Regions from separate parts of the Homo sapiens genome. Here all the other regions are linked to region 1. The links are contacts of gene promoters, found by promoter capture Hi-C in human tissues and cell types (Jung and others, 2019). All regions are on one chromosome and are shown on one strand. Each heading gives the region's core, a stretch centred on a gene start or on the middle of the fragment in contact. The rest is flanking DNA. Distances are from core to core; before and after follow the strand shown.

Evidence for each region. Contacts are between HindIII fragments. The study calls those that stand out against the background at their distance.
Region 2: a fragment that was not itself captured here is called in contact with the fragment with the promoter of TMEM220 in region 1 in 2 of the 25 tissues and cell types used here (H1 embryonic stem cells and liver).
Region 3: a fragment that was not itself captured here is called in contact with the fragment with the promoter of TMEM220 in region 1 in 2 of the 25 tissues and cell types used here (stomach and thymus).

The regions. Positions count from the first base shown.
Region 1 is chr17:10,728,451-10,732,221 of GRCh38, forward strand. TMEM220 (transmembrane protein 220) reads right to left here and starts at 1,573. Exons shown (of 6, transcript NM_001004313.3): 1 at 1,330-1,573; 2 at 581-610. The coding sequence starts at 1,401. It overlaps TMEM220-AS1 (TMEM220 antisense RNA 1), which reads left to right and starts at 1,327. Exons shown (of 4, transcript NR_073458.1): 1 at 1,327-1,450. RefSeq lists enhancers at 1,025-1,611, 1,612-2,198 and silencers at 1,212-1,381, 1,392-1,631. The HindIII fragment of the contact is 10,329 bases long and covers 1-3,771 here.
Region 2 is chr17:10,823,586-10,827,356 of GRCh38, forward strand. PIRT (phosphoinositide interacting regulator of transient receptor potential channels) reads right to left here. Exons shown (of 2, transcript NM_001101387.2): 2 at 1-2,198. The coding sequence starts at 2,060. The coding sequence ends at 1,647. Among named protein-coding and RNA genes, the nearest start is that of PIRT, 13 kb to the right of the region's middle. The HindIII fragment of the contact is 9,418 bases long and covers 1-3,771 here.
Region 3 is chr17:10,806,589-10,810,359 of GRCh38, forward strand. The region is part of intron 3 of TMEM220-AS1 (TMEM220 antisense RNA 1); the gene reads left to right. Among named protein-coding and RNA genes, the nearest start is that of TMEM238L, 4.4 kb to the left of the region's middle. RefSeq lists enhancers at 664-1,165, 1,166-1,665. The HindIII fragment of the contact is 6,861 bases long and covers 1-3,771 here.

The DNA.
Region 1 (3,771 bases), core at 323-2,822:
AGGCGCATGCCACCACGCCTGGCTAATTTTTGTATTTTTTGGTGGAGACGGGGTTTCACCATGTTGCTCAGGCTGATCTAGAACTCCTGACCTCAAGTGATCCACCCGCCTTGGCCTCCCAGAGTGCTGAGATTGCAGGCGTGAGCCACCTTGCCCAGCCAGGAGTTAATACTTTCTAGAAATATAAGTCACTGAATTAGCAGAACCTCAGAACTTAAGCCTGTTATTTTCCGGTCAAAGGTTTGCATTGAGTGTCTGGCTAGAAACTCATAAGGAATTGTTCAACTGATCTTGAGAGGCCTACTCTAGGTCCTCAAGAAAGTCCTCAGTTGGGCCATCTAACCAAAGGGAATACTGCAGAAAGACCTGTTTCCAGAAAGTTCGAAATTCACACACACATTACATTAGAACTCTGATCCTGCCTATTAATATTTTAGGAAAAAGCGCTTCCCAAGGGTTTGATTTTTAAGTTTCTCAGAAAATTAAGCAGGGAGGAGGGGTAAAGACATAAAACCGTGTGTTTTGTGCCGTTCCCCAATTCTTCCAAACGGAGGAAAGCCTGGAAGCGGCTCATACTCACCACCCACACCTCTGCATCTGGGTCATTTACCTGGAACGCCAGAATACCAAGGTGTTAGCAGACATCCTGTGCTGTTCCATTCCTTTTAAATTCATTTAAGCACATTTTTTATTAATTTGTTAAGTGCCAGACACTGCAATAGGCATCGAGGGTACAAAATCTGAACAGGATATAGTCCAGATGAGGACGGGTGAAGGGGTTTCTGGCTGACACAACAGATGTTTTTAACAGGCAGCCACACATTTTTGAAAAGCCTTCACGGGAGCTCTGGAGAGGACTCGCCAACCCAGAACGGGTATTTTAAGGGCCCTCCACCCCCACCAGTCTCAAGAAATGAGGGAAATGATTATGAAGGGGGTCCCCAAGCCGACTAAAAAGTTTAATGATGCTATAAAGGGTTTTGGTCGGCTTCGTCTCCTAGGCCCTGAGATATGTTCAGTGTCGTCCGCGGGCCGGACGTTAACGCAGGAGCCAGGGCCGCTTCTTCTGAGGTCCCCTGGGAAGTTCCACGCGCGGAACCAGCCCCTTCCAGGGTGTGAGCCCTGGTATGGGACTCGCTTCCATGAACACATCCGCGTCTCTTAGACGGGGGAGAAAGTGGGGGCTCCCCAAGCAGAAAGCCCAAGTCCCGTCCTCCCCACTAACTGTGCGCCCCTGCGACTCTGCCCGCTAGTCAGTTACACGGCCCGCTAGGCCAGGGGGCGGAGCTGGGAGCCGGGCGGGTCCCCCTCCCACCGCGGCCGCCTGACCTGCACCAAGGCCGCCAGCGCGAAGAAGGCGGCCATGAGTCCGTTGCAGGCCCGCCACAGCGCTGGCGCCATGGCTCGGAGAACACGGCGCGGGGCGGTGAGTCCTGCCACGTGCGGGGCGGTGAGTCCTGCCACGTACGGTCCGCCTTCCTCCTTGCGCGGAGGGACCGAGACCCCCGCCTCGGTTTCGGTGCCTTGGGGACACTGCCGTGGCCGTCGCTCCGCCCGGGGGCGGGGAGCGAAGGGCGTGGGTGTAGCCCCCACTCAGCGACCCATTCAGCCCGCCCCGAACGCCGCGGGGTGTAGGCGGCGCCGTCCTGGTTTCGCGGATGGGAAAGCGAGTCCCTCAGGGAGCGCAGGTCTCGGTGGTGGACGGAAGTCGAATTTGAACCCGTATAGGTTCAACTCCAAACCCTGTTTTCACTAAAGCTACCTTCCTCACAAAAAAAAAAAAAAAGAAGAAAGAAAAAAAAGAAGGAAAAAAGGAAGGAAGGCAGGCGGGAGGGGAGAGAGGAAGAAAGAGAAAGAAAGAAAAAGAAAGAAGGAAAGAAAGGGCTGGGCGCAGTGGCTCACGCCTGTAATCCCAGCACTGTGGGAGGCCGAGGTGGGCGGATCACCTGAGGTCAGGAGTTCGAAAGCAGCCTGGCCAACATGGTGAAACCCCGTATCTCTACTAAAAATACGAAAAAATTAGTCGGGCGTGGTGGCGGGAGCCTGTAATCCCAGCTACTCAGGAGGCTGAGGCAGGAGAATTGCTTGAACCCGGGCGGCGGAGGTTGCAGTGAGCCCAGATTGTGCCACTGCACTCCAGCCTGGGCAACAAAGCGAGACTCCTCAAAAAAAAAAGGATAAAAATTGTTTTTACAAAAATAAGAAAGAGAAAGAAAAAGAGATGTGTGTGTGTGTGTGTGTGTGTGTGTGTGTGTGTGTGTGTGTGTTCTGTTTAGTATTTATGCATTTCCTTCCAAAGCTCAGGAACTTTCAAATCCCTGTAAGCATTATGGTAATTTCTAGAGTGACGACAGTTATATTAACATCTTATACGGCTCACAGCTTTTCGGCAGACAGGCTCATTTATCTTCATGGGCTTTTATTATAAAAGATATTTACATATTATACATATTTACAATTCTCTCCCACCACCAAAACCAACAAAATTTCCAAAATTGCTCATGAATTTCTTATGAACCGAAGACACTGAAATATTCACTGTTCTCCCCTAGTCTGTCTGGTCTTTTTCTGTTTTGTAATTCGCCCTTCTGCTTAGTTCCTCCCCGGGCTCATTTACACATCCATAGGCCTCATTTCTGCTGTTCTAAAGAGTCTTTATCGCTTCAAATCAGGAGCTTCTGTGCCTGTCCTCTTTTCCTTTGAGCTAAATCTCCTAAAACTGTCTAGTTTTTTTTTTCTTTCCCTCTCAGTTTCATTCTTTTCACGAAACACTTATTTCAAGAACGTTGTCTGCTCTGTGCCTGGTGCTGGGACCGTGAAGGTCCCGTGCCGGGACTAGGCAGGGAGCCTGGCGGCTGGCGGGGGTGGGCACCCGTGTTTGCAGAGGTGGGGTGGGGACAGCGGGGACCAGCACTGGGTGGAGTTCCACAGCTAAATCAGCCCTGGGATTGGAAACAAGCGAAGACTATTCTCACTGTGCTTTTCCTTACATAAAAGAAAAAAATGAGAGCGAGAGTGCTAGGGGCTGACTTGCATTCCCCCTGCACCCCCAATTCATATGCTGAAGCCCTAACCCCCAGTGCCTCAAAATGGGACTGCATTTGCAGACAGGGACTTGACAGAGATGATTAAGTTAAAATGAGGTTATAGGGTGGACCCTAATCCAATATGACTAGTGTCCTGATACGAAGAGGGGACAGTTACAGAGGGAAGACCACATGGGCACACAGGGAGAAGACGGCCGTCTGCAAGCCAAGGGGAGAGGCCTCATGAGAAACCAACCCTACCAACATCCTGAATTTGGACTTCCAGCCTCCAGAACTGTGAGAAAATAAATTTCCGTTGTTTAAGCCACCTAGACTGTGGTACTTTGTTGGGACAGTCCTAGCAAATTAATACAGGGAATGATTATAATACCCACAAGGAAACAATGGCATGGAAGTGCTTTTAAGCTCTTGAATGCCATACAACCACCATGAAGTTTTATAGTTTTCACTGTTGTCTGGGACTTTCTTTTTTTATTTCTATTTTTTTGAGACAAAGTCTTGCTCTGTTGCCCAGGCTGGAGTGCAGTGGCACGATCTCAGCTCACTGCAACCTCTGCCTCCTGGGTTCAAGTGATTCTCCTGCCTCAGCCTCCAGAGTAGCTGGGACTACAGGCGCCCACCACCATGCTGGGCTAATTTTTGTATTTTTTTTAGTAGAGATGGAGTTTCACCATATTGGCCAGGCTGGTCTCGAATTCCTGACCTCATGATCTGCCTGCCTCGG
Region 2 (3,771 bases), core at 852-3,351, 96 kb after region 1:
CAGGATGCTCTCCTCTCACACCTCATTACCAAATGCTCTCCAGGGGTCTTTGGCCTAGGGCAGCGTGGCTGGCTCCCTCACAGGTACTGCTTCTGTTCTTTCACCTACGGGCCTCTTGGTTGCCACAGGGAGTTACAGAAGCACTTCTCAGGGACTCTTTGCTTGCCAGGCCCTCTGGAAACCCACTTCCCGTCTCTACCATAGACACCAGGAGGCCCTCAATGTGCCTCCAGGAGAAGCTGCGCTAGGCACTTGGTGAAGAGGTGGGAAGCCGGGAAAGAGAGGGATGAAGTAAAAACATCTGGGAGGTCAGACAAATGGCCGTGCAGTTTCCTAATTCCATCATGCTTCTCCTTCCCCAAGCTACTCCTGCACACGCATAGCAGCTCCTGCTGCTTCCAATGCCATTCTTTCCCCTCTTTGGTAACTCTTATCTTTCCTTTTGTTTTTGGGTTGGAGGACATGGCCTCCAGGAATTTCTCCGTCCTCTATCAAGTCTAGGGTAGACACCGCCTGTGTTCCCACACCCACCCACATTTCGCCAGTTGGCTTGGCTGCCTCTCTCACCTCGGGAAGCAAGAAGACATCAGGGACCGTGTCTTGCCCCCAGCCAGGGCTTATCCCAGAATGCGACACTTAATAAATGTTGGCTTTTTTGGTGGGTGGGGGCAGGGATAACAGAAGTTGGAATTTTCTGACGTGAATTCCATCTCTAGAAACCTACAGATCATTCAGATATGGAACTTGATTCTCTCAATTTTGATCTTGATGGACGTGAAAGGGAAAACAACCTTACAGGATCCCTCTGTATCTTTCCATTTAGCTGTTCTAGATGCAGAGATAGAGGCAGGGGTAGGAAAGAAATTAGGGCAACATGCATTTTGTCCTTGGCTAATGATCAAGTTCAGAGAAGACAGTGGTCAATGAGAAAGATAAGGTCAAGCGGAAACAGTGACATCCCCTAGCCTACCCCACTGCCTCTGATGTAAATATTATATAATTAGGAACTAAACTTCTTCAGCTGACTAACCCCTAGAGTCATGTTGTCATGTCCAGGGGCACGTGCCATCTTGGAGAGTATTTTTCCCAGGCCTCCCTTCATTGTTCAGTCTTTGGAATGTTTGATACTTGTGATCTTGAAAGTCTGCTAAGGGAGCTAGGGCTGTCAAACCCAATGGGTCAGAGCTCAGCCATCCCTCCCTCCTCTGTAAAGGACCTCCGTGGGTCAGTTTTGGTTCCAGAAGTATGCAAATGAAGAATCCAGCTCTGGCACTCAGATATGTAAACATGAGGTTCTCCCTTGGGCATAGCCCACCTTCGAAGAATTTCCCAGCATGCATTGCACTTGGCAGAGAGAGTTGGATGAATGATGCCTGGATGCAGGGGCAGGGGGTTAGAGTGACCAAAGGGAAGGCCACAGCCGGGATCCAAGGAAGCATCAGTCAGAATAGAGATCAAGTGGATACATCTGGCAACATTCCCGGCTGCATGGAGGGTGGAGCCCCAAGCTCTATCTTCCCCACAGGGTCAGGAAGAGCATTTTCCTGGATCAGTTTTATGGCACCCCACAGAGGAGACAGGGATGTCGGATGTTGGTCATCAGATCTTCTCCCAGTCAAGGTGGCAGGGAGATGCGGAAACCACCATCAGCGAGTCAGGAAGAAGGACTTGAGGCTGCGTAAGAAATTCGACTTCTGTCTGTGCTTCTGTTTCTTTTTGATGATGGGCACCCACACCAGCCCGCACACCAGCATCATGAGTCCCAGGGACAGGAAGCCAGGCCCTACCATTTTGAGGATGGAGAGACTCTTGTCACTCAGCTTCAAGGTGTAGGCCAAGCAGGTGATGACCACGCCGAAAAGCAGGATGGCACCGCCCACTGACATGATAACGATGGGCTTGCGGTAGATTTCCCAGTTACTCCTGGGGGTGGTGGTCCAGACAGACTCGCTCCTGGAGCTGATGCACAGGGAGCTGGCGGTCTGGCTGGGCAGCAGGTCCTTGGCTTCTGGAGACTTCTCATCGACCTCTAGAACCTTGGGGAGAGTCTCCATCGTCATGGTTGCTCAGGACTGGGCGCCTAGGACCAGCAATAGTTGGAAACAAGAGTGGAGCCAAAGGAATCCTCACACACCCTTCCTGTACTCAGCATCCATCTCTAGCCCCGCTCTCAGTGGAGGGTGAACAAGGTTTTTGTGCTGAAGCCAAAAAAGAAAATGAAATGAAATTCACATAAATAAGAAACCACCCAAGCTGGTATAATTTTTTTTTCTTGCAAGAGATAAATATTATAACATTTTATTCAATAGCTTTTAATATTTAAAACAAGGAACAGTGATGCCATTTTAGAAACAAACAAGTTATAGTTTTTTGTTTGTTTGCTTGTTTTTTTTTTTAGATGGAGTCTCCCTTTGTCACCCAGGCTGGAGTGCAGTGGCCGTGACCTCAGCTCACTGCAACCTCCACCTCCCGGGTTCAAGTGATTCTCCTGCCTCAGCCTCCTGAGTAGCTGTGATTCCAGGCACCTGCCATGAAGCCTGGCTAATTTGTGTATTCTTAGTAGAGACGGGTTTCCACCATGTTGGCCAGGCTGGTCTCGAACTCCTGACCTCAAGTTATCCACCTGCCTCGGCCTCCCAAAGTGCTGGGATTACAGGCATGAGCCACCGCACCCGGCCAGCTATATTTTGTTGAATGGCATTTTATTTTCAGACCCAACCACTTTCTAGTTGTCTGATCTTGATGGAATTACTCAACCTCTCTTTGTCTCAGTTTTCTTATCTATAAGATGAGGATAATGTTACTTCTTTCATAGAATTTTCAAAACGGTGTGAGTTAAGGGATGTAATGCATTGAAATAATGCCTAGCATATGGCAAATACTCCATAAATGATATCGTTTGTCTATTAGAAGAGTGATGCTTTACAGATAAATTCTGCATGTGTGTCCTGTGCCAGACACTGCATCAAACACTTCCTTTGTTAAATTGAAACCTGACAATAAACCTGTGAATTAGGCATTAGTCCTGTTTTACTGATGAGATAGTGAAGCTTCAGAGAGGTGAAGCAACTTCTTGAAGATCACACGATAAGGAACAGCCTGAGCTCAGATTTGAACCCTGTCACTCCTACCAGGCTATGCGTAGTCTGGAGAACACCGTTTCGTGCAGCCTGGGCTTTCACGTGCTCTGTCAGCAGAGGACAGTGATGTCACAGGTTCACAGTGCAACCTTCTTTTTTTTTTTGAGATGGAGTTTCACTCTTGTTGCCCAGGCAGGAGTGCAATGGCGTGATCTCAGCTGACCGCACCCTCCGCCTCCCGGGTTCAAACGATCCTCCTGCCTCAGCCTCCTGAGTAGTGGGGATTACAGGCATGCACCACCACACCCAGTTAATTTTGTATTTTTAGTAGAGATGGGGTTTCTCCATATTGGTCAGGCTGGTCTTGAACTCCTGACCTCAGGTGATCTACCTGTCTTGGCCTCCCAAAGTGCTGGGATTACAAGCATGAGCCACTGTGCCTGGCCCCCACAGTGCAACCTTCTAAGATCTAAACGCCACCCTTCCCTACCCTCCATGTTAATTACATCAAGGCCAATTTCCAGCTTCCTATTCTCAGGCCTGGAAAGGTATGGAGTCTCACTCAATTGCCCACCCCAGGGTCTAATCGAGAGCCCATCTGCATAGCTCTCAGCCACTGGGGCTCCCTCATCACTGACCCTGACTCAGGGGAGGTAGATGGTCACCCATGTGGAGCAATTTCAGGGCTGGG
Region 3 (3,771 bases), core at 669-3,168, 78 kb after region 1:
CTTGAGATCAAGGTGTCTCCAGGGTTGGTTCCCTTGAGGGCTGTGAGGGAGAATGGGGTCCAGGCCTCAGCCCTAGCTCTGGGTGGTTTGCTGGCCATCTGTGACGTTCCTTGCCTTGTAGATGCACCACTTTGATCTCCGCCTTTATCTTCACATGGCGTTCTCCCTGTGCGCATGTGCGCATGTCTGTGTCCACATCTCCCCTGTTATAAGAAGCACCATCCTGCTCCAGTATGAACTCATCCTAACTAATTAGATCTGCAAAGATCCTACTTCGAAATAAAGTCCCATTCTGAGTTACTGGGGGTTAGGATTTCAGCATATGAATTGGGAGGACAGAATTCAACCACAGCCCATAGCAATACCTAAAAGGTTTGTTTGTTTATTTGGACATCCTTTGATTTCTAGCTGTAGTATAGATAGAAAATTTAGACTCTCAAGCCAAGTTTTCAGAAAAAACATAATTGCAAAGTCAGCACCCCATTGAAGGTGGCCCTCCATGCCAGCAGGCACTGCTTCAACCCCTCCCTGTCTCTCCTGGGGACACGGAGGTGCTGTTGGCTATGTCTGTGTCCCTGGGCGAGAGGCTGAGAAGGTGGGGTCTTCTCACCCTGCTTGGGTTCTGGCTGCTGTCACCTCTATTCACCAAGCCAAGGTGCTCATTCTCCACGAGTGGGTAACCCTAAGTGACCCCTACACATTTTGAAGTTTGAGCTGAAGTGGGATTTAAATTGAACCAATATTATTAGCACCTACTATGGGTCAGGCAGCAGGATCAAGATCAAGTATGATCTTGATCTTGACCTAACATCACAGACATAAGATGCTAAGAGTGGAGGCAATAATTAACACATGAATGGTATAATTTCAGATTATATTGCAATTTAATAATTTCAGAAAAAAATCGCAAAAACAGGGAAGTATAAGACAGTAGGCATCTGTTACACTCCTCTGGACATTTGCTTTCTGAACCATAACATGGTGTGGAAGGCACAGGTGGACGCCTAGCCCCTGGCCTGCAACTTCCAATTTGGTCACTGAGGGCCCCTCTGCCTCTCTCCTTCTGCGATTTTGCTGGGCTGTTGGGGCTGCAGCCACCCCTGTGCCTCTGAGAGGTTTGTCTTTCTGCTGCTGTCTCACAGCTCCGCCTCTTCTCGGCAACTGAGACGTTGTCACTCCCTTGGCAAAGTCATCATGATTTGTCATCCGTGATGTCACCAGATGACAGCCTCTCCATGACCTGGATCCTAAAGGGCAGGCAACTGACACCAGGATGGACTAGCTAGGTGCTCAGCTGACCCAGCGTCACAGATCCCAGACCTGACTCCATGAATGACAAAGGCCCAGTCACATCCTGGGTGGCAGGCTCAGATGTTGGGTGGGTCTAGCCATGCCGGCCTGTTCATTAGGTCTGCCTACCTTTTCATGGTGCAGAGCTTAGTAGAGTGCCTAGCTGTGCCACTCACTTGCTGTGTGACCTTGAGCAAGTCACTTACCCTCTCTGTGCCTCAATTTCCTCATAGGATTACTGTGAGGCGTAAGTGAGTGCATGGGTGTGAAGTGTTTAGAACCCGCACTCTGTAAACAGGGACAAGTGTTATTGTTGTGGTTGCCGCTGGGAATCTTTACATTTCTGCCATGATGCTTATGTAAGGAAAAACCCAGGTTGGAAGGCATCCATCCATGACTCTCTGGCACCATCATTTTCTCCCCTTTACCAACCTGGGCTTCACTTGGTAGCAGCTGCCTGGCCCTTGGCCTCCCCATACTACCCTCACTAAATCTATTAGGACGTGCAGTGCTGTCTCACCATTCTTCGATGGGTACAAATCCTTTATTTTCATGAACTCCTCTTCCCAGATCCATTTTATCTTTCAGATCCCTTACCTCTACCAAAGTGGCTCTTTATCTTCACCATCCTCAAATCCCTCAACGCCCCCTAATCTCGTAATCCAGTGTTTATCAAGCTTCACTTATTGTTTAAGTGTACCATTCCCTGCAATTTGTGTCTCTTACTTATAGAATATTACATTCGTTTGTTAATGCTATATTATTTTGTTAATTTTTAAAAATGGATTTGTTGTCTCTACTAAAAAAATACAAAAAAAATTAGCCGGGCATAGTGGCGGGTGCCTGTAGTCCCAGCTACTCGGGGGGCTGAGGCAGGAGAATGGCGTGAACCTGGGATGCGGAGCTTGCAGTGAGCTGAGATTGTGCCACTGCACTCCAGCTTGGGCGACAGAGCAAGACTCCGTCTCAAAAAAAAAAAATGGATTTGTTAAAACTGCAATCAGTTATTGTCACCATCAGTGAAAAACTGGTGTGACTTAGACAGAAAGTACTTGGGAATAAATATACTGAACACAAAACAATTGTAATTAAATCAGACCAGGGGTACTCAAACTCTTTCTGTATTGGGCCAGATAGTAAATGTTTCGGGCTTTGCAGGCAATCTTGTTGGTCTCCGTTACAGCCATTCAACACTGCCATTGTAGTGTGATATGGTTTGGCTTTGTGTCCCGACCCAAGTCTCATTTCAAATTATAATCCACATAATTCTCATTATCCCCAACTGTCAAGGGAGAGACCAGGTAGAGGTAATTGGATCATTGGGGTAGTTTCCCCCATGCTGTTCTTGTAATAGTGAGTTCTCACGAGATCTAAGGGGCTCATCCCCCTTTGCTGGGCACTTCTCCTTCCTGCCACCTTGTGAAGAAGGTGCCTTGCTTCCCCTTTCCCTTCCACCATGATTGTAAGTTTCCTGAGGCCTCCCCAGCCATGCTGAGCTGTGAGTCAATTAAACCTCTTTCCTTTATAAATTACCCAGGCTTGGGTATGTCTTTATAGCAGTATGAAAACAGACTACTGCATGGTGAAAGAGCCAGAGATGATATGTAAATGAATGAGTGTGGCTGCATTCCAATAAAACTTTGCTGTAATCCCAGCACTTTGGGAGGCTGAGGTGGGCAGATCACCTGAGGTCAGGAGTTTGAAACCAGCCTGTCCAACATGGTGAAACCTTGTCTACTAAAAATACAAAAAATAACTGGGTGTGGTTGCCCATGCCTGTAGTCCCAGCTATTCAAGAGGCTGAGGCAGGAGAATCGCTTGAACCAGGGAGGTGGAGGTTGCAATAAGCCGAGATCGCACCACTGCACTACAGCCTGGATGACAGACGGAGACTCCATCTCCAACCAAACCAAACCAAACCAAACAAAACAAAACACCTTTATTTACAAAACCAGGCAGCAGGTCAGATTTGCTGATTTCCAAACTAGACATTGTTGCCTACTGAAATTGCTCTCTTTCTCAAATAAAGACCCAAGACTCACAAAGTTTAGAGAGGTACATAAAACATAATAGCACCAACCAGTGGCTTTGTCCTGGAAGTCATAGGAAAGATTGAATGAAAATTGAAATGGCTATGCCTTTTAATGTGAGCCTGTCTGCCAACTGAAATCCCTTCCCATACTGCCAGGGATATAGTGCCAGAATCTGGAAAAATGTTGACCCTGATCAATGCTCCCCAATCAATCTTCATTTACTCCTCCTTTTTCTCAGTGTGGGACTTAGGGTCAGTATTTTCAGAAATGTATTCGCTCTTATCTTAGTGACCCCTGACAATTTTCAGAGCTCTTCATTCCTCCTCTGTTAGGCTACCCACAGGGTCTTATAAGAATTCCCCAAAGTGCGCTGCCTGGACCTCTGTAATCCATGCTCGAGGACCCTCCCTCCAGCTCAGGAAACTCTAGCCCTCTTTTCTGGTTTTCC